Regions from separate parts of the Homo sapiens genome. Here regions 2, 3, 4 and 5 are each linked to region 1. The links are contacts of gene promoters, found by promoter capture Hi-C in human tissues and cell types (Jung and others, 2019). All regions are on one chromosome and are shown on one strand. Each heading gives the region's core, a stretch centred on a gene start or on the middle of the fragment in contact. The rest is flanking DNA. Distances are from core to core; before and after follow the strand shown. Region 1 holds the start of TBX6 (T-box transcription factor 6). Region 2 has its middle 9.1 kb from the start of ZNF785. Region 3 holds the start of ZNF688 (zinc finger protein 688). Region 4 holds the start of LOC124903677 (a long non-coding RNA gene). Region 5 holds the start of ZNF768 (zinc finger protein 768).

Region 1 (4,702 bases), core at 564-3,063:
GGTGTGGTGGCGGGCGCCTCTAGTCCCAGCTACTCATGAGGTTGAGGCAGGAGAATTGCGTGAACCCAGGAGGCAGAGCCTTGCAGTGAGCGGAGACAGAGCGAGACTCCGTTTCAAAAATAATAATAATTAATAAAGAGCTGGCCTAAACAAGAGGTCAAAAACTCAAGTGCCAGGCTGGGTGTGGTGGCTCACGCCTGTAATCCCAGCACTTTTGGGAGTCTGAGGCAGGTGGATCACCTGAGGTCAGGAGTTCGAGAACAGCCTGACTAACATGGTGAAACCCCATCTCTACTAAAAATACAAAAATTAGCTCGGCGTGGTGGTGGGCGCCTGTAATCCCAGCTACTCGGGGCCAAGGCAGCAGAATCACTTGAACCCGGGAAGCGGAGGTTGCAGTGAGCCGATATCGCGCCGTTGCACTTCCAGCCTGGGCGACAGAGCAAGACTCCCTCTCAAAACCAAACAAACAAAAAAACCTCAAGTGCCTGCAAGGCCAAGCAGATACTGTAGATGTGTAAAGGGTAGCATAGATTGGCAGGGTTGGGAGTTGGGGGCAGGCTGGGCAAACTGGAGTGAGCAAGGCCTACTTATATTTTAATACTTTAAAGTTATTTTTATTAAACTGTCTGCTGTCCAAACATAATACATGTTGTAGGCCAAAATGGCCATGAAGCTACCAGTTTGCAAACCCTGAACTGTGAAATCTTTTAGCCACTTCCCTATCTTCTCTGTTGGAGCCATCATTAGTACTTAAAAAAGTACCTTTGAGTCAGGGAGTTCTATTCTACTCTGTGTTTGTGAGAAATACGGCCCTGCCCCTCTGGGCCACAGTTTCCTCATATGTAAAATGGGGCCACTCATGTCCACTTCCCAACCCCAGTGCCTTGTGGTGAGACTGTTGCTCCGGGGATGACGGTCCCGCCCCTCCTTTCAGGAACAGGCCTTTGAGAGCAGCCAGAAGTACAAAGAGGGGAAGTACATCATTGAACTCAACCACATGATCAAAGACAACGGCTGGGACTGACCCCCGCTCCCCCGACGCATGTGGCTCCAGCCCGGCCTGGCCGCCAGGGAGCGCCACTGGCTTCCCGCCACCCGAAGGGAGCTCTGGACCCTCAGAGCCCCTGCAGAGGACGGATCTAGCTCCTGTATATATATTTTATTGCATGCACTGTGACCTTGGGGGGAGAACAGAAGGGGGACGACGCCCCCGCACCTCCTGCGATCTGGCTGGCTTGGATCTCGTTTTTAACCCGTTCCTGCCCCACCTGCCCTATAGTTATGGCCTGTGTTCTGCTCTCCTGGTCCCAGTGCACCGTCTGCTCTGTGAACTCCTCCCACCAGGCCCTTCTTACCCCACGCGTGTCTGTCCCCCTCGTTCTGTAGCGTTTGTACATAATAAAACAATGGAGTGGAGACAGCTCAGGCTCGCGTGTAATCCGGGAAGGGGGAGCTCAAGCGGAGATTTCCGCCCCTATAGACCTGTGCGGTTCTGAGCCCCGGCGGGGCATGGGGTAGGCACAGCCGTCCAAGCTGGGTCTCCGGGAACCGGGACGGTTTCACTGCTGGCGGAGGTCCTGAGCCCACTCTGGCTGCCTACGCCGTGACCTCGGCTGATCTGCGTCTGCTCATCTGCAGCGTTTGGCCGCCGCCTAGGGGCAGCGTCCCAGGGAGGCAACCGCGCCGCCGGCCTCGCAGCCCCCTCGCGGTCGGACTGCAACTCCCAGCGGCCCCCGCGTGGTCCGTCCGGCTCCTTCGGGCGCGCCTCAGCGCTGAGCCTGCCGGGAAGTGTAGTTCCGAGGGTTCCCCAGCGCGGGACCTTCGGGAAACCCTGGCGCGAGGCGTCAGAAGCTGTCGGACTGTGAGCGCCTTCGAACTTTGGAGGCTTGGCTCGGGATGGAGGTTTTTTTAGCATGGGGACCAGGGAGGACTACGGTGCTCGGGACTGGGCTGCGGCCTCCTCGCGGCCCCGAGTGCCCTGTGAAATCAGCTCAGGCCGCGTCCCTCTAGCCTGCACTTTCCCTCTGTTCACGCTGCTTCCCTCCAGGGCCCGGCCTCCAAGTGAAGGGGGGCGGAGGGCGGTCACCTGCCAGAAGGTCTGGGGCGCCAAGGTGTGTCCCGGGACTCTTGGCTCCGTCCAGGTTCCAGGCCCCGCCCCCCAGCTTATCCCTAGCCGGGGCTCCCCACCGTGGGAACGGGGACCAGCTGGCCGGAAGCGCCAAACTGCGTCCCTGTCCGAGCCCTGGGGATCAATCAAGCCGAGGAGTTAATTATGTAATGAGGGGGCAGGGGGTCGAGGCTAATGAAGCCTCCCGGGGTGGGGAGGGAGGGGAGGAGGGGACCGTACCCAGGTATCCGACCCCCTCTCGGACCCCTTCGAGGCCCCAGGGGTCTCCACCCCAGCCCAACTCCAGGGCCCCAAAGAGGGGAGGGGCTGTGATCCTGGATCTGGAAGGGGCTGAGCTGTGAGCTATAAAGGGGGCATCTCGCAGCACCGGGGGCCCTAAGCAGCGAGACCTGAGGCCAGACGGAACTACAACATGTACCATCCACGAGAATTGTACCCGTCCCTGGGGGCCGGCTACCGCCTGGGGCCCGCCCAACCTGGGGCCGACTCCAGCTTCCCACCCGCCCTAGCGGAGGGCTACCGCTACCCCGGTGAGCGTTGGGACCAGCTCCTGGGTAGGAGAATAGGGGGGCTGTGGCCCTCGGCTGGCTCCTCATTCTTCCCCGGCTTCCAGAACTGGACACCCCTAAACTGGATTGCTTCCTCTCCGGGATGGAGGCTGCTCCCCGCACCCTGGCCGCGCACCCACCTCTGCCCCTTCTGCCCCCTGCCATGGGCACTGAGCCGGCCCCATCAGCTCCAGAGGCCCTCCATTCCCTCCCGGGGGTCAGCCTGAGCCTGGAGAACCGGGAGCTATGGAAGGAGTTCAGCTCTGTGGGAACAGAAATGATCATCACCAAAGCTGGGAGGTGAGGGGCTGGCCAGGGTCCGTGTTTCTGGTGGGGGTCTCTTGGGAAAGGCAGAGTCCCTGGGGAGGGGGCTAGGACTGGGTGGTTCCCGAGGGGCTAGAGCTCTGCCTAGGCCTAGAATCTGACTATGGCCTGGGGCAAGGGTTACTCTGTGGCAGGAATCAGGAGTCACTCTGTGACAAGGGTTAAGGGCCAGTCTGTGGAGTCTGTGGCTGAGTTTAGGGACCAATCTATGGCAAGGGTCATGGGTCAGTCTGGGGCAGGGTCAGGAAGTCCCTCTGGGTTATAGGTTAGTGTGTGGCTTAGACCAGCATCCAGACAAGGACAGGGGGTCAAGGGCCAGCCCATTGACCAGCATCAGGGAAATCTGGCCAGGATTCGGGATCAGTATGCAACTCGAATAGGAGTCAGTATATGACTAGGTCCAGGGTCACCCTAGAGGCAGGGACACGGTCAGTGTTTGACCTTAGATGAGGTCTTTAGCTGGGGCAGGAACTCAAGCCCTAGCATGGAAAGTCCTCGGCCCTACTGCAGGCAGGGTATATTTTTTCTAAAGCAAATTCATCTAAGAGCTGCAGATTCTGGTGCTGGAGATCAGGGGAGGAGAGGAGGGTGGGGACAGGAAGCTCCTAGCAAGAAAGTTAGTCACCCCTGCTTCTGCAAATAGGCTTTGAGGGGTAGGAGTCATGGCTCTGTTCCTAACCTGCTGTGTGACAGATCACTTAACCCGTCTGTCCTGTTTCCCCAAATGTAAAATGAGACAAGAAAACCTTCCAGCTCTAAGATTCCGCCCTCTGGCTTCTTTTTTTTTTTTTTTTTTTTTTTGAGATGGAGTCTCGCTCTGTTGCCCAGGCTAGAGTGTAGTGGCACGATCTCGTCAGCTCACCGCAACCTCTGCTTCCTGGATTCAAGCGATTCTCCTGCCTCAGCCTCCCGAGTAGCTGGGACTATAGGCACACACCACCACACCCGGCTAATTTTTGTAGTTTTAGTAGAGACGGTGTTTCACCATATTGGCCAGGCTGGTCTCAAACTTCTGACCTCATGATCCTTCCACCTCGGCTTCCTAAAGTGCTGAGATTACAGGCATGAGCCACTGCGCCTGGCCCTTTTTCATTTTTCAGAGACAGTGTCTTGCCCTGTTGCCCAGGCTGGAGTGCAGTGGTGCAATTGTGGCTCACTGTAGTCTTGACTTCCCAGGCTCAAGTGACCCTCCCGCCTCAGCCTCTGTAGTAACTGGGACTATCAGTGTGCACCACCATGCCTGGCTAATTTTTTAATTTTTTTGTAGAGATGGGGTCTTTCTATGTTGCCCAGGCTGGTCTTGAATTCCTGACTCAAGAGATCCTCCCACCTTGGCCTCCCAAAGTATAGGGATTAGAGGTGTGAGCCACAGCCTCCAGCCTGCCCTCTGGGTTCTAATTCCACCTCCTTTGATGTTTCTCTGACAGCTCTGGGGAGCCCGTTGTTATGTCCCGTTACTGGTGCTGGGCCCACCCCTGGCCAGTGGGTAGCTCCAGGCCTCTCCTGTCCCCTCCCTTGCACAGGCGCATGTTCCCTGCCTGCCGAGTGTCAGTCACTGGCCTGGACCCCGAGGCCCGCTACTTGTTTCTTCTGGATGTGATTCCGGTGGATGGGGCTCGCTACCGCTGGCAGGGCCGGCGCTGGGAGCCCAGCGGCAAGGCAGAGCCCCGCCTGCCTGACCGTGTCTACATTCACCCCG
Region 2 (4,702 bases), core at 579-3,078, 500 kb before region 1:
TATTCATTTATTATTTTTGAGATAGAGTCTTACTCTGTTGCCCAGGCTGGAGTGCAACGGCAAGATCTCGGCTCACTGCAACCTCTGTCTCCTAGGTTCAAGCAATTCTCCTGCCTCAGCCTCCCAAGTAGCTAGGATTACAGGCGTGCGCCACCACGCCCGGCTAATTTTTTTTTTTTTTTGTATTTTTAGTAGAGATGGGGTTTCACCATGTTGGCCAGGCTGGTCTTGAACTCCTGATCTCAGGTGATTCACCTGCCTCAGCCTCCCAAAGTGCTGGGATTACAGGCGTGAGTCACCACGCCCAGCTCATCTGTATATCTTCTTTGGAGAAATGTCTATATAAATCCTATGCCTGCTTTCATCTTTTTTTTTTTTAATTCTTTTTTTGAGTGGTGTCTTGCTCTGTTGCCCAGGTTGGAATGCTGTGGTGCCATTTTGGCTCACTGCACCCTCCACCTCCCAGGCTCAAGTGATTTTCATGCCTTAGCCTCCTGAGTAGCTGGGATTACAGGTCTGTGCCACAATGCCGGCTAATTTTTGTATTTTTAGCAGAAATGGAGTTTCATCATCTCTGTTGGCTAGGCTGGTCTCGAATTTCTGGCCTCAAGTGATCTGCCTGTCTTGGCCTCCCAAAGTGCTGGGATGACAGTGTGAGCCACCGTGCCCAGCCTCTTTGCCTGCTTTTAAATTGGGTTTTTATTTTTTAGTGGTTGTTGAGTTACCGGAGTTATTTATAAATTCTGAATATTAATCCCTTATTAGACACATGATTTACAAATATTTTCTCCCATTCTGTGGAGTGTCTTTTCATTCTCAATAGTGGTTTTGCTTTTTTTTTTCTTTTGAGATGAAGTCTCACTCCATTGCCCAGGCTGGAGTGCAATGGTGCGATCTTGGCTCACTACAACCTTCACTTCCCAGGTTCAAGCGATTCTCGGGCCTCAGCCTCCCAGAGTAGCTGGGATTACAGGCATGAGCTACCATGCCCAGCTAATTTTTGTATTTTTAGTAGAGATGGAGTTTCACAATGTTGGCCAGGCTGGTCTCAAACTCCTGACCTTAGGCGATCCACCTGCCTCAGACTCCCAAAGTGCTAGGAGTACAGGTGTGAGCCACTGCACCCAGCCACCATTCATTTTAAAAGTTTTGAAAGACACAGTAAAGTTGAAGGACTTTTACAGAGAATACCCATATACTCACCACCTAGATTCTATCACTAACATTTAGTGTATCTGCTTTATCATGTAACTATCAGTTACTCTACCAGTACACTTTGTTTTTGGGTGCATGTAAAAAAAATTGCTGAAATCAGTACACTTCACCCGTAAACATTTCAACATGCATATCATTAACTAGAGCTCCACGTTTGTTTTATATATTTTTTGAGTTAAAAGTACATAAAATGCACAAACTTTAAGTGTATATTTGCTGAGTGTTGACAAAGACGTATACATCTGTAACTGAAACCCCTATCCAAATACATAACATTACCATCATCCTAGAAAGTTGCCTCATGTGGCTGGGTACAGTGGCTCATGCCTGTAATCCCAGTAGTTTGGGAGGCTGAGGCAGGCAGATCACGAGGTCAGGAGTTCGAGACCATCCTGGCCAATATGGTGAAACCCCGTCTCTACTAAAAATACAAAAATTAGCTGGGCATGGTGGCATGTGCCCATAATCCCAGCTACTAGGGAGGCTCAGGCAGGAGAAGCGCTTGAACCAGGGAGTCAAAGATTGCAGTGAGCTGAGATTCTGCCGCTGTACTCCAGCCTGGCGACAGAGTGAGATTCTGTCTCAAAAAAAAAAAAAGAAAAGAAAAGAAAGAAAGTTGCCTTATGCCCCTTCCTAGTCAATTCCCATTCCCACCCCACCAGAGACAACTACTATTCTAATTAGTGTTCCCTGTTATAAAACTTCATATAATTGGAATCATACAGTGTGTATTTTTTTTTTTTTTTTTTTTTGTCTAAAGCTTCTTTTATTCAGCATAATGTCTCTGAGTCCTACTTCTTTTTAGACTTTCTTGAGTTCAGAGCTGGGAGAGTGCTCCCACATCAATAGAGTAGTTGACAAACTCAGAAATGCTCCTCAACAATGTTATCTGTGTTCATTTGTTACTGTAAGAAATTACTAGAAACTGGTGGCTGAAAACAACACAAATTTATCGTCTTATAGTTCTTCAGGTCTAAAGTCTGAAAATAGGTCTTATGGGACAATCAAGGTGTTGGCAGGGCTGCATTCCTTTTCTAGAGGCTCTAGGGAGAATCTGTTTCTTGCCTTTTCCAGCTTCTAGAGGCTGCCTGCATTCCTTGGCTAGTGGCCCCTCTCCAGCAACTGCATCACTCCACCTCTGCTTTTGTTGTCACATATCCTTCTCAGACTTTTACCCTCTTGCCTCCCTTTTATAAGGACCATTGTGATTACATTAGACTCAACAGGTTAGTGTTCCTAACTCAAAATCCTTAGTTTAATCACATCTGCGAAGTCCTATTTGCTAATATAAGGTAACACAATCAAAGGTTTTGCAGATTAGGATGTGAAATCTTTGGGGTCCATTATTCTTCTTAATTCATACATAATAACTATACATAAATATGGGGTATGTGGTGATGTTTCTATACATATGATGTGTAGTGATCAAATCGGGGCAATTAACATACCCATCATTTAAAACATTTATTATTTCTTTGTGTTAGGAACATTCAATATCTTCTCTTCTAGCTATTTGAAAATATATAGTATATTATTGTTAACTATAGTCATCCTACGGTGCTATAAAACACTAGAACTTATTCCTCCAATATAGCTAATAATTTTATGTCCATTAACAAATTTTTCCCTATCCCACCCTTGCCCCTACCCTTCCCTTTCTAGCCTCTAGTAACATCTATTCTGCCTTTTTTTTTTTTTTTTTTTGAGATGGAGTTTTGCTGTTTGGCCCTGGCTGGAGTGAAGTGGCACAATCTCGGCTGACTGCAATCTCTTACACCTGCGTTCAGGCAATTCCTGTGCCTCAGCCTGCCGAGTAGCTGGGATTACAGGCATGTGCCACCAAGCCTGGCTAATTTTTGTATTTTTAGTAGAGACAGGGTTTTACCATACCGGCCAGGCTGGTCTCGAACTCCTGACCTCAGGTGATCCATCCACCTCGGCCTCCCAAAGTGCTAGGATTACAGGCATTAGCCACCATACCCGGCCTCCACTAACTTTTGACTCCCCAAAACTTAACTACTGTTGACTGGAAGCCTTACCAATAACATAAATAGTCAATTAAAACATGTTTTGGGGTTGGGTGCCATGGCGCATGCCTGTAATCCCAGCTGAGGCTGAGCCAGGAGGATTGCTTGAGCTTGGGAGGTGGAGGTTGCAGTGAGCCGAGATCTCACCACTGCACTCCAGCCTGGGTGACAGAGCCAGACCTTGTCCTAAAAAAAAAAAATCAGATAGTAAATATTTAAATACATATATACTTTTTTGGGCTTACGCCTGTAATCCCAGCACTTTGGGAGGCTGAGGCGAGAGGACTGCTTGAGCTCAGGAGTTCGAGACCAGCCTGGACAACAAGGTGAAACCCCGCTTCTACAAAAAATTAAAAAATTAGCCAAGCATGGTGGCATGTACCTGTATTCCCAGCTACTTGGGAGGCTAATGTAGGAGGATGGCTTGAGCTCAGGAGGCAGAGGTTGCCAGGATGGTAGCCACTGCACTCCAGCCTGGGTGACAGAGCCAGACCCTGTCTCAAAAAGAAAAAAACAAAAACATATTTTGTATGTCATATATATCATATACTGTACTCTCTCCCCCCACCTTTTTTCTTTTTTTAATTTAGAGATGGGTCTTGCTCTGTCACGAAGGTTGGAGTGCAGTGACGTGATCATAGCTCAACTGCAGCCCGAAACTCCTCAGCTCAAGTGATCTTCCTGCCTCAGCCTCCTGAGTAGCCGGGACTACAGGCGCATGCCACCACGCCTGGCTTATGTAGTGTATTCTTATCATAAAGTAAGCTAGAGAAAAGAAAATGTTATTAAGAAAATCATAAGGAAGAGAAAATATATTTACTATTCATTAAGTGGAAGTGGATCATCATAAAACTCTTCATCATCATCATCTTCATGTTGAGCAGTCTGAGGAAGAAGAGGAGGAAGGGTTGGTCTTGCTGTTTCAAGGGTGGCAGAGGCAGAAGAGGTGGAGAAGGGCGAAGGGGGAGCAGAAGAGGCAGGCACACTGGTGCAACTTTATGGAAATACATCATAATTTCTGGAAATACATCATAATTTCATAATACATCATAAGTACATCAAAAAATGACTTTTTTTGCTTTTTCATTTCTCTAGACATATTTCTATACAGTACCAATCCTTCTTCTACTGTTTGCTTTAGTTTCAGTGCCCATATCTTAGAAGGGTCTAAGTCATAAAAGAAGTCAAAAGCAGTCTTAAATGACGGAAACCCTCCTGCCAGATTGTCTAATGTCAATTTGTTTTCTGGCACTGCCCCTTTCCATCTTCCTTATCATCTGGCACTGGTTCAGAAGCACTCATCTCTACCAAGTTGTATTCTAATTCCTCTGGTATGGTGTCTATTAGCTCTTCAGTTTCTCCAAAATCCATGTCTTGAAATCCTTCACCCCCTAAATTTTTTTTTTTTTTTTTTTTTTTTTTTTTTTTGCCATATTCACAGTCTCTTTCGTGATTTCCTT
Region 3 (4,702 bases), core at 1,355-3,854, 480 kb before region 1:
CGCCTTGGCCTCCCAAAGTGTTGGGATTACAGGCACAAGCCACTGTGCCCAGCCCAATTTTTTTTTCTTTTTGAGACGGGGTCTCACTCTGTCACGCAGGTTGAAGTGCAGTGGCATGATCTTGCTCACTGCAACCTCTGCTTCCTGGGTTCAAGGAATTCTTGTGCCTCAGCCTCCTGAGTAGCTGGGACTACAGGTGTGCACCACCAGACCTGGCCAATTTTTGTATTTTTAGTAGAGATGGAGTTTCAGCATGTTGCCCATGCTGGTTTCTAACTTCTGGCCTAAAGCAATCTGCCCACCTCAGCCTCCCAAAGTGCTGAGATTACAGGTGTGAGCAACTGGGCTGGGCCTAAATTAAATATTTTCAAAATTTAAAAAATACTCATTTCTAAGGATATATTTTTCCTTATATAATTTCTACAGTATTCACCACATGGAGTGCAGTGAGGCAGTTCCAGAACTCAAGGTAATAATGTAAGCATATTAATAATATTTAATTATTAACAATTAATAATTAATCAATTAATAACATATGCATATGAGATCAGCAGGAGTCACACTAAAAGCCAAAAAGCATTTCAGGTGAAAAACAGCAAGGGTAGGCCAGAAAACACAAAGAAATCTTGACTGAAAAGTCAGCAATAAAAAACACTATTGAATAAAAAGGAAGGCTCGATATACTAGGGCTGGCAGGGGAGCCAAGCAAGTAGATCCAGAGCCAGAATGACAGCAGGGACCTGGTAGGCCTTGCTTGTTATCTCCAGCAACCAGCCCCACGCTTAGCAAACAGTATTCTGCATCCTGTATGATTGCAGGTATATTCCAAATGTGGGGATGAAGGCAACTAGTATTTACAGTCCAATGCCACCAGCCATGAGGATGACCCATCTTGGCTGAAAAATAAAGACCTTAAATCTAGGAAGCGGAAGATACAACCCAGGACAGCAGGAAGGGGAGACCCGGTATGAGAAGAACTGAGGCCCAACCCAGTTTAGAGAGGAGACTGAAGGCTAAAGGAGGAAGGTTTCCCAGGAAAAAAAAAATTAGGATTTGAAAGTTGATGCTATCTTTGATAATTTGGAACAACGTAAATAAGTAGAAATGGCAGGGCCGGGCGCCGTGGCTCACGCCTGTAATCCCAGCACTTTGGGAGGCTGAGGCGGGAGGATCACCTGAGGTCGGGAGTTCGAGACCAGCCTGACTTAATATGGAGAAACCCCGTCTCTACTAAAAATACAAAATTAGACGGGCATGGTGGCTCATGCCTGTAATCCCAGCTACTTGGGAGGCTGAGGCAGGAGAATCGCTTGAACCTGGGAGGCGAAGGTTGCGGTGAGCCTAGATAGCGCCATTGCACTCCAGCCTGGGCAAGCCGAGATAGCGCCATTGCACTCCAGCCTGGGCAACAAGAGTAAAACTCCTTCTCAAAGAAAAAGTAGAAATGGCTGGGAACCGTGGCGCATGCCTGTAATCACAGCACTTTGGGAGGCCGAGGCAGGAGAATTGCTTGAGGCCAGGAGTTCCAGACCAGCCTGGGCAACATAGCAAGACCCTGTCTCTGTTTTAAAATTTAAAAATTAGCCAAGCATTGGGTGTGCGCCTGTGGTCCCAGCTACTCGGGAGGCTGAGGTGAGAAGATCGCTTCAGCCCGGGAGGTCGAGTCTGCAGTGAGCTAGGATCGCACTGCTGGGCCACAGAGCAAGACCCTGTCTCAAAACAAACAAAAAATAAATTCATGTATGTTAGCAACAATTACTATTTAATTTAAAACTTCCCCATTCCGATTCCATCCTCACCAAGCACGTTCCTTCGCCTGCAGCTTCGGTCTAGAGCCTGAGCGAGCCGAGCTGCGGATGCCAGGGGCTGGGTGGACTCCGCAGCTAAGCTACTGTAAAACACGCACCTGCTTCTACCGCGGGTGTACACATGGTTTGCCAGGGTGTGCGCGTCTTCCCAAGGGGTCTGGGGACCAAATTCCAGCTCCCGCCATCGGGAGGCACGGTAAGAGACCGTAGGGGACACAATCCCGAGCACCGCAGATGCCGAGGTCTCCGCTGCGCTCCAGTCTGTCAACAGAGGCTTCAGGACCGCGGGGTCCCTTCAAATGCCCCGCCAGTCCCAGGCCAATCACCGCGCAGCTTCTTCCGGGATCGTCGCCAATCATCGGCCGTTGCGTATTGCGGGTACAGAGGGGTAAGTGAAGCTTCGGGCCCTTACATCTTTCTTGAAGGCAAGAAGCCTCTCCTCTACTTCCCAGACACCCCGCCTCCCCCACTAGAAAAAGCAGCCGAAGCGGCTTTATTTAAGGGCAAGTGGGACGATGAGGCCAGAGAAGTCAGAAAGGCTCCATATTTGATATGGTCAAATAATGGCGCCCTTAAGAGCAGCCTGTGACAATTGAAGGGTGGTCGCCATATTTTCAGAAGGCACCTTCCGGGTCCCTTAACCCGGGTGTCTATGTCCAAGCGGCCATGAAGTGAATAAACACTGAGGAATTATATTTGTCCCTATCAGAATCCTCGAATCCCTAGCAGCCAGTCCCTGCTACTTCGGTTGCCTCGGCTGCGTTCGGACGCCACGGCTGGGCGGGGCCGCCCTTCCTGTGGACAACGACAGCTGAGGCCGGGAGCGGGGAGGCGGCGGCTCCAGGGACCTGGCGGCCGCCGATCGGGGCTGCGAGGCCCCATGGCGCCGCCCCCAGCCCCGCTCCTGGCGCCGAGGCCCGGGGAGACCCGGCCTGGTTGCAGGAAGCCCGGGACTGTGAGCTTCGCGGACGTGGCCGTGTACTTCTCCCCGGAGGAGTGGGGCTGTCTGCGGCCCGCGCAGAGGGCTCTGTACCGGGACGTGATGCAGGAGACCTACGGCCACCTGGGCGCGCTCGGTGAGAGCCCCGGGTCCGAGCCCCCTCCTCCTTCACCGGGTTCACAGGGGAGATGATGTAGAAGGGCCGAGAGGACTGTGAGCCCTAATCCCGCACTCTTGCACCAACACCAGCAGCCACCTCCCGTTCCCAGGGCTTCAGGTACCCCCTCGGGAGTGTTTTCACCCGCATCCATTTCATTCAGGCAGCAGCACTGCAGCCCCTTCCAGGTTGAGTATAAGCTCCGAGGGGGTGCCCTCAGCCTGGAGGGGAATGCCATCTTCCCACGATGGCCTCTCAGGCCCGCGCTGTGATCCCTGTTCTCTCCCAGGATTCCCAGGCCCCAAACCAGCCCTCATCTCTTGGATGGAACAGGAGAGTGAGGCTTGGAGCCCCGCCGCCCAGGATCCTGAGAAGGGGGAAAGACTGGGAGGAGCTCGGAGAGGTGAGGGATAGTCCCGGGTCCCCCCACTTGGTTTTCCAGGGCTTCCTGTCTAGCAGAGTTTCTTTTCAGGCCCCCACTTCCAGCATCCCTAAAGAAATTCAACTGTGTTGGGTACTAGAGGAGTAAAGAAGGCAGACCTGGTACAAAGTTTTCAGAACATGGGACAGCGGTCCTGTGAGGACTGGGAGCCCAGTCCAACCAGGCACTCCAGCCTGGGTGACAGAGTGAGACTCCGTCTCAAAAATAAATAAATAAATAAATAAATAAATAAATAAATAAATAAATAATAGCCCCTGCTTCCTGAGCACTTCCTAAGTGCTTAACATGCATCTACTCAGCTAAACCAGTAACGCTGTGAAGTCAAAAGCCATTATTATTCCCATTTGATGCATAAGGAACCAAGGCTCAGATAAGGCACTTTTAGGAGATCTGAATCCTGTTTACCTTGTTCTAAAGCCTGTGTGTTAATCACTGGACAGAACTTCCCTCACTGCCTTAAGTGAAAAGCATTCTATAACCTGAGACAGTCTGTGCAAAAGTGTTTGTAAGTGTAACTTAATTCCGGTTTCCCAGGAGATGTCCCAAACAGGAAGGAAGAGGAACCGGAGGAAGTCCCAAGAGCCAAAGGGCCTAGAAAGGCTCCTGTGAAGGAGAGTCCTGAAGTGCTGGTGGAACGCAACCCTGACCCAGCTATTAGCGTGGCCCCGGCACGGGCACAGCCACCCAAAAATGCTGCCTGGGACCCGACCACAGGAGCACAGCCCCCGGCACCCATACCCAGCATGGATGCTCAGGCCGGCCAGCGGCGCCACGTGTGCACGGACTGCGGCCGCCGCTTCACCTACCCCTCACTGCTGGTCAGCCACAGGCGCATGCACTCGGGGGAGCGGCCTTTCCCCTGCCCCGAGTGTGGCATGCGCTTCAAGAGGAAGTTCGCAGTGGAAGCGCACCAGTGGATCCACCGCTCCTGCTCCGGGGGGCGGCGGGGCCGGAGGCCTGGGATCCGGGCTGTGCCTCGGGCCCCCGTCCGAGGTGACCGGGACCCGCCTGTGCTCTTCCGGCACTACCCAGACATCTTCGAGGAGTGCGGCTGAGCGGCACCGCAGGCTGGAGTTGAGCCTGACCTTGGCACGAAGGACTGACGGATCCCTGAGGTGGGCCACTGAGTCGGGGACTCCGGAACTGAAATTCATGCCCTGGGCTTTCCTCAAGGATCCCTCAAGTTTCCAACTTGTAAAAAGAAAAGTGCCTGTAAAGATTCGAATAGATTAGACTTGCCACCCATCTCCCCAGTCTTTTGTTTAACAAAAAAAAAAAAAAAAAAAAAAAAAAAGAAGAGAGTGAGACCCTGGACTCATTTCAAAGTGTTATCTGAAGATCAGGTGCAACAGAGA
Region 4 (4,702 bases), core at 1,516-4,015, 460 kb before region 1:
GGCTTTCCCAGGCTTCACTGTGCATTGAGGATATGCTTGTCTGCATCAACAGAATAAGCCACATCCAAGTGGCCAGCCAGAGTGAGAAGTAAAGGCCATGGCCACATGCCCATCCCTCGTCTGTCCAGGCCATTTAAGGGTGGGAGACCGGGTGCAGTGGCTCACGCCTGTAATCCCAGCACTTTGGGAGGCCGAGGTGGGCAGATCACCTGAGGTCAGTAGTTCAAGACCAGCCTAGCCAACATGGTGAAATCCCGTCTCTATTGAAAATACAAAAGTTAGCCGGGTGTGGTGGCGGGTGCCTATAATCCCAGCTACTCAGGAGGCTGAGGCATGAGAATTGCTTGAACCAGGGAGGTGGAGGTTACAGTGAGCCAAGATTGCGCCATTGCACTGTAGCCTGGGTGACCAGAGTGAAACTCCGTCTCGGGCCAGGCGCGGTGGCTCACACCTGTAATCCCAGCACGTTGGCAGGCTGAGGCGGGCGGATCATGAGGTCAGGAGATTGAGACCATCCTGGCTAACATGGTGAAACCCTGTCTCTACTAAAAATACAAAAAAAATTAGCCGGGCAAGGTGGTGGGCGCCTGTAGTCCCAGCTACTCAGGAGGCTGAGGCAGGAGAATGGCGTGAACCCAGGAGGCGGAGGTTGCAGTGAGCTGAGATTGCACCACTGCACACTCCAGCCTGGATGACAAAGCGAGACTCTGTCTCAAAAAAAAAAAAAAAAAAAAAGAGTGAAACTCCGTCTCAAAAAATAATAATAATAAAATAAGGCTAGGTGTTGATCTGAGCTCCAAGACCCCTAAAACTCCTTGGAATGTTTGTGTATGTGTGTGTCTCTAGGAATAGGCATGTAGGCATGCAAAGATGTATATGACCCAAAGAAGTTAATACTAGGCTAGTATTTTCAAATAAGGCCTCCCTGATGCAGAATCACGAGGTTATCTTTTATTATTATTATCATTATTATTATTTTGAGACGGTCTGTCTGTGTCACCCAGGTTAGAATGCAGTGGTGTGATCTTAGCTCACTGCAGCCTTGAATTCCTGGGCTCAAGCCATCCTCCCGCCTCAGTCCTGCATAGCTGGGACTACAAGTGTGCACCATTATACCTGGCTAATTAAAAAAAAAAAATTTTTTAGAGAAAAGTTCTCACTCTGTCACCCAGGCTGGTCTTTCTTTTGTTGTTATGGGTTTTTATTTTTGGAACCTGTCTCAGGAGCCCAGGCTGGTCTCAAACTCCTGACCTTGAGTGATCCTCCCATCTCAGCCTCCCAAAGTGCTGGGATTACAGGTGTGAACCACTGTGCCTGGCTGAGTGTCTTTTAAAAATGTAGGTTGCCAGGCGCAGTGGCTCATGCCTATAATCCCAGCACTTTGGGAGCCCAATGGGAGCAGATCACTTGAGCCCCAGAAGTTTAAGACCAGTCTGGGCAACATGGCGAAAACCCATCTCTACAACAATTAGCTAGGCGCGGTGGCTCACACATGTAATCTCAGCACTTTGGGAGGCCGAGGTGGGTGGATCACGAGGTCAAGAGATCAAGACCAGCCTGGCCAACATGGTGAAACCCCATTTCTACTAAAAACACAAAAATTAGCTGGGTGTGATTGCAGGCGCCTGTAGTCTCAGCTACTCAGGAGGCTGAGGCAGGAGAATCACTTGAACCCAGGAGGCGGAGGTTGCAGTGAGCCGAGATCACGCCACTGCACTCCAGCCTGGTCGACAGAGTGAGACTCCATCTCAAAAAAAAAAAAAAGAGAGAGAGATAAAGGCATGTCAGGCCAGGCAGTGACTCATGCCTGTAATCTCAGCACTTTGCTGAGTGACAGAAGAAGACTGACTCTGTCTCCAGAAAAAAACAGGCACGTTCAGAGAACAAAGATTCCATCCATTTAGCTGGAGCTAAGTGGGATCGTTTGCCTGTAGGGAAAGATGGGGGTTTGACTTTGAGAAGGTTGGTTTGCCATGGGCCTGGAAGGTCATGGGGGTACTGGCTATGAACACTTTTTTGAGACAGGGTCTCGCTCTGTCGCCCAGGCTGGAGTGTAGTGGCGTGATCTGGGCCCACTGCAGCCTCAACCTCCTGGACTCAAGTGATCCTCCCACCTCAGCCTCCCAAGTACCTGGGACCACACGCACTTGCCACCACGCCCAGCTAATAGAGCCCATGCCTCTATCTTAATGAGCCTTTGTTCTAGCTACTCTGTTCTATATAGGCTACACTTGCAAATCAAATTCCTCTGTCAATGACCTTCAATGCTATCTCTAAGAAATTCCTCCAGGAGTCTGTCTGTCCCATGCTAGAAGCCTCAGAACTGTGCCTCTGTGTTTTTATCCTGGACACAATCTGCCTAGAAGGTCTTCCCCAAACTCGTGTCAGCTGAATTCATACCTGGTATCTCTCTCCCCCAGCTTAGTGTAAACTTAGTGCAGGGACTTTATCTTGCCTCACCAATGTCTTCGCCACCCAAGAATAATGCTTGGCACACAAGAGGGGGCCAATACATTTTTATGAAATGAATGTAGACTTAGGATATGTGTCTGTTTTTTGATATGTTTCCTGAGTGGTCAGTGTTCTTCCCCAGGATTCCCTGACTCCAAACCAGCCCTCTGTTAGGGACAAACTGCCCAAGAAACCTTCTTGGTGCTGTCCACCCATCCCCCAAGCCTCTTTACATTTCTAAGCCCTTACCTAGGCACCACGGTGAAGCCAGCAGACTTTGCTTATCAGACCTTGCTGCAATAAGCAAACCCCAATTACAAACCACCCACACTGCACAGGGGGAGGTCATGGGAAACATAAACAAACTTTACCTACACCCTCCTGTAATAAACGTCACAAGGTAATATGTAGCAAAATTAACCAGCAAACAACCCCAGGATGCGGCCATACGAAAGAACTCCATCAAACTCCCCTCCCCAATATAAACCCCTCATTCTGTAAGCTTGGGGCTACTTCCTCTCTGACTGTTAAGGGAGCAGCCAGCAGGTTAATAAAAAGTTACCTGCCTAACTTTGGGTCTGTTTTTCCTTTCTCTTGGCTGACCTTACATTCTGGTGCCAAAACCCGGGAAGGGGATAGCCTCTGGCCAGGACTCACTCACTCACTCACTCTCTCTGTCTGTCTCCCTCCCTACTCCCTACCCTATCACCCCTCTTCCAGCCAATCTCCCCTTCCCTGAACCTGCCAAAGACCCAGAGAATCTCCTAGACTCTCCCATTGCTGACGACTTCATCCACCACCTCCACCAGGGTGAGTAAAAAGAGACTGTTGCCGTTCCTCAGAACCCTTGACCATCCATCTCTCCATTTCTGAAAGACCCAGCGCTGGGCCAAGGGCTTCCTCCGGCCTGTGGGCCTCTGGTTCCTCCATTTTAGGGATGCCTGACACGGCAGTTACCTCCTCTATTCCGGACAAGTTCCGCAAGAAAGGGGACGCCCTCTCCCACCGTCCTTGTCAGCAGCAGTCTCTTCTTCCTCTACCCCTACCTCCTCCATTCCGCAATCTCAATGCTCTCGGGCTCCATTCAGAGGTCCGTTCTTTTTTTTTTTTTTTGAGACGGAGTCTCGCTCTGTTGCCCATGCTGGAGTGTAGTGGCATGATCTCGGCTCACTGCAAGCTCCGCCTCCTGGGTTCACGCCATTCTCCTGCCTCAGCCTCCCGAGTAGCTGGGACTACAGGTGCCCGCCACCACGCTCGGCTAATTTTTTGTATTTTTAGTAGAGACGGGGTTTTACCGTGTTAGCCAGGATGGTCTCGATCTCCTGACCTCATGATCCGCCCGCCTCGGCCTCCCAAAGTGCTGAGATTACAGGCGTGAGCCACCACACCCGGCCCAGAGGTCTGTTCTAAGAGGCTTATCTTTTACTGCAATACCACATGGCCTCAATACCAACTGGACAGTGGCTCCCAATGGCCCAAAAATAGCACTTTACAACTTTTGCCATCACAGTGGGAAATGGTCTGAGATTCCTTATGTTCAGGTTTTCTTTAAGGGAGGAGACCACCCCTCATATTGTTTTATGCCCAATTTCTGCCTCCAAAGAAAGAAGAAGTAAAAGGCAGAAATGAAATCCACAAGCAGACAGCCCAGTGCCACACACTGGGCCCGGTAGTTAAAGATCGACCCCTGACCTAATCGGTTATCTTATCTATAGATTACAGACATTGTATAGAAAAGCACTGTGAAAATCCCTGTCCTGGGCTGGGCGCGGTGGCTCACGCCTGTAATCCCAGCACTTTGGGAGGCCGAGGCGGGTGGATCACAAGGGCAGGAGATTGAGACCATCCTGGCTAACATGGTGAAACCCCGTCTCTACTAAATGTACAAAAAATTAGCCGGGCGTGATGGCGGGCGCCTGTAGTCCCAGCTACTTGGGAGGCTGAGGCAGGAGAATGGTGTGAGCCTGGGAGACGGAGCTTGCAGTGAGCAGAGATCGCGCCACTGCACTCCAGCCTGGGTGACACAGCGAGACTCTGTCTCAAAAAAAAAGAAAATCCCTGTCCTGTTCTGTTCCGATCTAATTACCGGTGCATGCAGCCCCCAGTCATGTGCCCCGTGCTTGCTCAATAGATCACAACCCTCTCACGTGGACCCCCTTAGAGTTGTGAGCCCTTAAAAGGGATAGGAATTGCTCACTCGGGGAGCTTGGTTGTTGGAGAAGTGAGTCTTGCTGAAGCACCTGGCCGAATA
Region 5 (4,702 bases), core at 1,502-4,001, 430 kb before region 1:
CATGCACAGGGCTCATCCTCATGGATGCAGAGGCAGGACAATGCCAGTGGACTCCCCAAGTTTCTCCTGCCTTGGATTAGCTGGTGTTGGGTCAAGATGCAGCCCTTATCAGAGGCTTTCCTGGGCTTGGAGCCTCTCACTGCTGTGGCTGTGTGTCAGGTGGAGGCTGGCTTCCTTGTGAAGTCCCTGTGCATAGATGGCACCCTGGTCCTAGAGGAGGCTGGCTGGAAGTGAGCCACTCTTACTCCAGGTGCCAGTGAGGCTGAATTTGCACTTGGAAATGCGGGTGCCTGGGCAGCATGAAGTCTTGGCCCAGCTTCTGCTACACCTGGGACTTGTGGCTCATGATAAGAGTGCAGGCAGTGTACGGTGTCAGAGCTGTGGCTGGAGGTCTCGCCACCCATTTTTAGGGTGTGGCTGCTCTCCTGTGTGAATTTTGGTGGATCAGCAAGTTGGATGTCAGAGAAAAGTGTCTTGTGAAGGAGACTTGTTTCCTACCTGTGTGAGTGCTTTGGGGATGACCAGAGGGTACCCCATGTCCAGCTCTTCCCAAAACTGGTCCTCTTGTAGGCTGTTTGACTGTGGGCTCTAGTGCTGGACCATGTAAGCCATTCTTAGCAAAGGTTTCAAGACAAACATACATTGGGATGGGAGAGAGCTATGGGGCTGGAAGCTGTTTCTCTGGAGGGCAGAAAGTTTTCCCCGCTTCATTCGTGGCATAAGCTCTTGTGATTTTATTTGTAAGCCTTTATTATTATTATTTGAGACGGAGTCTTGCTCTGTCACCCAGACTAGAGTGCAGTGGCGAGATCTCGGCTTACTGCAACCTCCGCCTCCCGGGTTCAAGTGATTCTCCTGCCTCAGCCTCCCAAGTAGCTGGGATTACAGGTGCCCACCACCGTGCCTGGCTAATTTTTGTATTTTTTTAGTAGAGACGGGGTTTCACCATCTTGGCCAGGCTGGTCTTGAACTCCTGACCTCGTGATCCACCTGCCTTGGCCTCCCAAAAGTGCTGGGATTACAGACATGAGCCAGTGCGCCCCACCTGTAAGCCTTTATTTAGATAGTTTCTCTCCACTTTTTACCACTTGGCATTCTTCAAGTTCTTGTTCTCACCTCTTTTCAGGAAGGAGAGGCCATCCTTCCTCCCAAACATTCTCTTCCCTTCATTTGTCTGGGTAGGCGACAAGAAAACACGATCCATGGCTCCTGCTCACACAGGGGCATCGGGCTCGTTAACTGTCAAGAACGCTGCCAAACTTGTTTCAGCACGAAGCGTAGAAAAAAAAGACAAGAACTGGATGATATTAAGTTGTCTGTCCAGGCTCACTTCCTCAATTCAAAGCTGCGCCCGAGGCAGTGTTTCTCAGGTTCCCTTCCTCTGCAAGACTCCATTCGAGTCAGACAAGACTGGAGAGTTGTTAGATGCCTCGAAGGCCAGATGGTTCTCTCAGTCCAATTCTCCTTTGTATCACCCTCACCTGGAAGGAATCCTGCCTCCCTGTGAGGAAATCTAACAACAGGGACTAAGGCTGCCAGGGATTGAGTTAAACTCAGGCGCTGGGGAAGGTGGAGGGGAGAGGCAAGGGGTGTGAGGCTGACGAGGAGGAAGGGTGTCTGTCCTCAGATCTTCTGGCTTTCATAAAACATAATGGAGGCTAAGTGGGGGCGGGAAAAGTTTTGATGGCACAGGCCGGGCTGGAGGGGAGATGCCTGGCACCTCCCTCCCACTACCTCCTGAAGGCGCTTCTGGCCGACAGGGGAGGCGGACCCGACCACAGCACTCCCGGCCAATCAGGAAGGCGCCTGGCGTTCCCTGGCGACCATTAACGCCCAGCCGTCCGCGGGGTTGGAGGAGGCGGGGCGGCTAGAGCACGAGCCCCATCGGCCAACCGCCGGGCTTCCTGGGGCGGAGAAGCTGTGCCTCTGGGAGCCGGGGCGGGGCTGTCTCCTTGGCAACTATCCTAGCCCTCGAGGAGGGAGGAGGGAGGAGGAGGATCAGGGGAGCCGAGCTGGGTGGGGGCCGGAGGAACGGGAGCGGGCGCGCGCAGGTGCCGGGGAGCGGAGTTCCTGGAGGGGGTCCCAGGCTCAAGGACCTCGGCGAGGCCAAGGGGAGTCCGTCCCGGTTCCCGAGGCGCTGCCGGAGCTGACCCGGAGGCCCGGGAGGGGAGGGAGCGAGACACCGCCCCCGCTGGCGCCGGGAAGCGTCGCTCCTTCTCGCTGACCTTGGTCTCGCTTGTCGCCTCGCCCTTGGCCACACGCACCGACGACGCGGGGCCCGGGAGATGGACAGACGGGCCTCTGGAGGGACGGAGACCTAGAACATAGGCACACACACTGCCCCGGTAGCCCCGCGGGCTCCGGGGCGTCCGGTCCTCACCCACCCCGTGGCCGGGCCCCTCCAGCCCAGGGTTAATGCCAACGAGTTTCCACCTCCAGCGGCTCCTAGAGAGGCCGCGGCGCGAGCCGGCGGGGGGACCTGGCCGCGGACGGACACTTCCTGTGCGGGGGAGGGTGGGGGGGTGCTGGGCGGCCGTTGGACAGTGCAGCCCAGCCCGGGGCCGGGGTCCAGAAGGTGGGGGCTCGGGCGGGAGCGGGGGCCGGGGGCCGCCGGGGTAGTCGCGAAGCCCCTCATCCCCGAGGCCGCGACGCGCGGGGGCCAGTGAGGGCCACGGGGAGGCCGAGACCTTGGGAGGGGGCGGGGCCGCGGGCAGGGGAGGGGCCCGGCGCGCTGGAGAGGCGCGGGGTCAAGACGTCCGGCCTCGGGGGCCCGGGCTGGGCCGCCGAGTCCCCTGGGCGGCGCTGAGCGGGCGGGAGGCGGGGGCCCGCGGCTCGGGGCAACCGAGGCCGGGTCGCGGGATCGGCCGCCATCGCCGCCGCCGCTGCACTGGGAGCCCGCGGGGATGGAGCGGGAGGCGTTGCCGTGGGGCCTCGAGCCCCAGGATGTGCAGAGTTCTGACGAAATGAGGAGCCCCGAAGGGTACCTCAGAGGTGAGGAGGGAGCGCCCGTCCGAGGAGTGGACTTGCGCGCAGGAGAAGGGGCTGTGGCTCCAGGGAGGGAGCGAGGGCCCGGGGCTGGGACACCTGGGACTCGAAGGAGGGGCCGGCGGGGACTGGGGTGTCTTGGGTCAGCTGAGGGGGGCGTGGGAATTTCAGCACTTGTCTAGGGGCCAGCGACCCTGCATGTGAGGTGGGAGGTGTGTGGTTGCTAATGGACCAAATGACCTTCCAGGTCTCACACGATCTGGATTCTCTCATCCTGCAGGCAACATGAGTGAGAATGAGGAAGAGGAAATTTCTCAGCAAGAAGGCAGTGGGGACTATGAAGTCGAAGAGATACCATTTGGGCTTGAACCCCAGAGCCCTGGGTTTGAGCCACAAAGCCCAGAGTTTGAACCCCAAAGCCCCAGATTTGAGCCTGAAAGCCCGGGGTTTGAGTCCCGAAGCCCTGGGCTTGTGCCCCCAAGCCCTGAGTTTGCACCCAGAAGCCCTGAATCAGATTCTCAGAGCCCTGAGTTTGAATCCCAGAGCCCTAGGTATGAACCCCAAAGCCCTGGCTATGAACCTCGGAGCCCCGGGTATGAACCCCGGAGCCCTGGCTATGAATCTGAGAGCTCTAGATATGAATCCCAGAACACTGAGCTCAAAACCCAAAGCCCAGAATTTGAAGCTCAAAGTTCCAAATTCCAGGAAGGTGCGGAGATGCTTCTGAACCCCGAGGAAAAGAGTCCTTTGAATATCTCCGTAGGAGTTCACCCCCTGGACTCCTTCACTCAGGGGTTTGGGGAGCAGCCCACAGGGGACCTGCCCATAGGGCCACCTTTTGAGATGCCCACAGGGGCCCTGCTGTCTACACCGCAGTTTGAGATGCTTCAGAATCCCCTGGGTCTCACAGGAGCCCTTCGAGGTCCAGGTCGGCGGGGTGGCCGGGCCAGGGGTGGGCAGGGCCCTCGGCCTAACATCTGTGGCATCTGCGGGAAGAGCTTCGGGCGGGGCTCCACCCTGATCCAGCACCAGCGCATCCACACCGGTGAGAAGCCCTACAAATGTGAGGTCTGCAGCAAGGCCTTCTCCCAGAGCTCTGACCTCATCAAACACCAGCGCACCCACACTGGCGAGCGGCCCTACAAATGTCCCCGTTGCGGCAAGGCCTTCGCCGACAGCTCTTACCTGCTTCGCCACCAGCGCACTCACTCTGGCCAGAAGCCCTACAAGTGCCCACATTGTGGCAAGGCCTTCGGCGACAGCTCCTACCTCCTGCGACACCAGCGCACCCACAGCCACGAGCGGCCCTACAGCTGCACCGAGTGCGGCAAGTGCTATAGCCAGAACTCGTCCCTGCGCAGCCATCAGAGGGTGCACACCGGTCAGAGGCCCTTCAGCTGTGGCATCTGCGGCAAGAGCTTCTCCCAGCGGTCGGCCCTTATCCCCCATGCCCGCAGCCACGCCCGGGAGAAGCCCTTCAAGTGCCCTGAGTGCGGCAAGCGCTTTGGCCAGAGCTCGGTGCTGGCCATCCACGCCCGCACCCACCTGCCAGGCCGCACCTACAGCTGCCCCGACTGCGGCAAGACCTTCAATCGCTCCTCCACTCTCATCCAGCACCAGCGCTCCCACACGGGCGAGCGGCCCTACAGGTGCGCCGTGTGCGGCAAGGGCTTCTGCCGCTCCTCCACGCTTCTGCAGCATCACCGGGTCCACAGTG

The links. The method cuts DNA at HindIII sites, captures the fragments that hold promoters and counts their contacts. A contact is called where the count stands out against the background at its distance.
Region 2: a contact is called between a fragment that was not itself captured here and the fragment with the promoter of TBX6 in region 1, in 1 of the 25 tissues and cell types used here (lymphoblastoid cells).
Region 3: the fragment with the promoter of ZNF688 here is called in contact with the fragment with the promoter of TBX6 in region 1 in 3 of the 25 tissues and cell types used here (H1 embryonic stem cells, hippocampus and lymphoblastoid cells).
Region 4: a fragment that was not itself captured here is called in contact with the fragment with the promoter of TBX6 in region 1 in 1 of the 25 tissues and cell types used here (hippocampus).
Region 5: the fragment with the promoter of ZNF768 here is called in contact with the fragment with the promoter of TBX6 in region 1 in 3 of the 25 tissues and cell types used here (dorsolateral prefrontal cortex, lymphoblastoid cells and small bowel).

What each region holds. Positions count from the first base shown.
Region 1 is chr16:30,089,035-30,093,736 of GRCh38, reverse strand. It overlaps TBX6 (T-box transcription factor 6), which reads left to right and starts at 1,813. Exons shown (of 9, transcript NM_004608.4): 1 at 1,813-1,864; 2 at 2,496-2,661; 3 at 2,745-2,979; 4 at 4,527-4,702. The coding sequence starts at 2,544. YPEL3 (yippee like 3) reads left to right here. Exons shown (of 4, transcript NM_031477.5): 4 at 938-1,423. The coding sequence ends at 1,027. RefSeq lists enhancers at 1,154-1,343, 2,476-3,349 and a silencer at 1,564-1,823. The HindIII fragment of the contact is 30,865 bases long and covers 1-4,702 here.
Region 2 is chr16:30,592,492-30,597,193 of GRCh38, reverse strand. No RefSeq gene overlaps it. Among named protein-coding and RNA genes, the nearest start is that of ZNF785, 9.1 kb to the right of the region's middle. The HindIII fragment of the contact is 3,722 bases long and covers 1-3,689 here.
Region 3 is chr16:30,569,616-30,574,317 of GRCh38, reverse strand. It overlaps ZNF688 (zinc finger protein 688), which reads left to right and starts at 2,604. Exons shown (of 3, transcript NM_145271.4): 1 at 2,604-2,884; 2 at 3,195-3,308; 3 at 3,882-4,592. The coding sequence starts at 2,689. The coding sequence ends at 4,402. RefSeq lists a silencer at 2,597-2,836 and enhancers at 3,699-4,262, 4,263-4,702. The HindIII fragment of the contact is 17,900 bases long and covers 1-4,702 here.
Region 4 is chr16:30,546,676-30,551,377 of GRCh38, reverse strand. LOC124903677 (a long non-coding RNA gene) reads left to right here and starts at 3,115. Exons shown (of 2, transcript XR_007065050.1): 1 at 3,115-3,261. The HindIII fragment of the contact is 3,144 bases long and covers 1,194-4,337 here.
Region 5 is chr16:30,524,615-30,529,316 of GRCh38, reverse strand. ZNF768 (zinc finger protein 768) reads left to right here and starts at 2,751. Exons shown (of 2, transcript NM_024671.4): 1 at 2,751-2,991; 2 at 3,266-4,702. The coding sequence starts at 2,904. RefSeq lists enhancers at 1,366-1,665, 3,246-3,305 and silencers at 1,736-2,565, 2,656-2,975, 2,996-3,045. The HindIII fragment of the contact is 23,531 bases long and covers 1-4,702 here.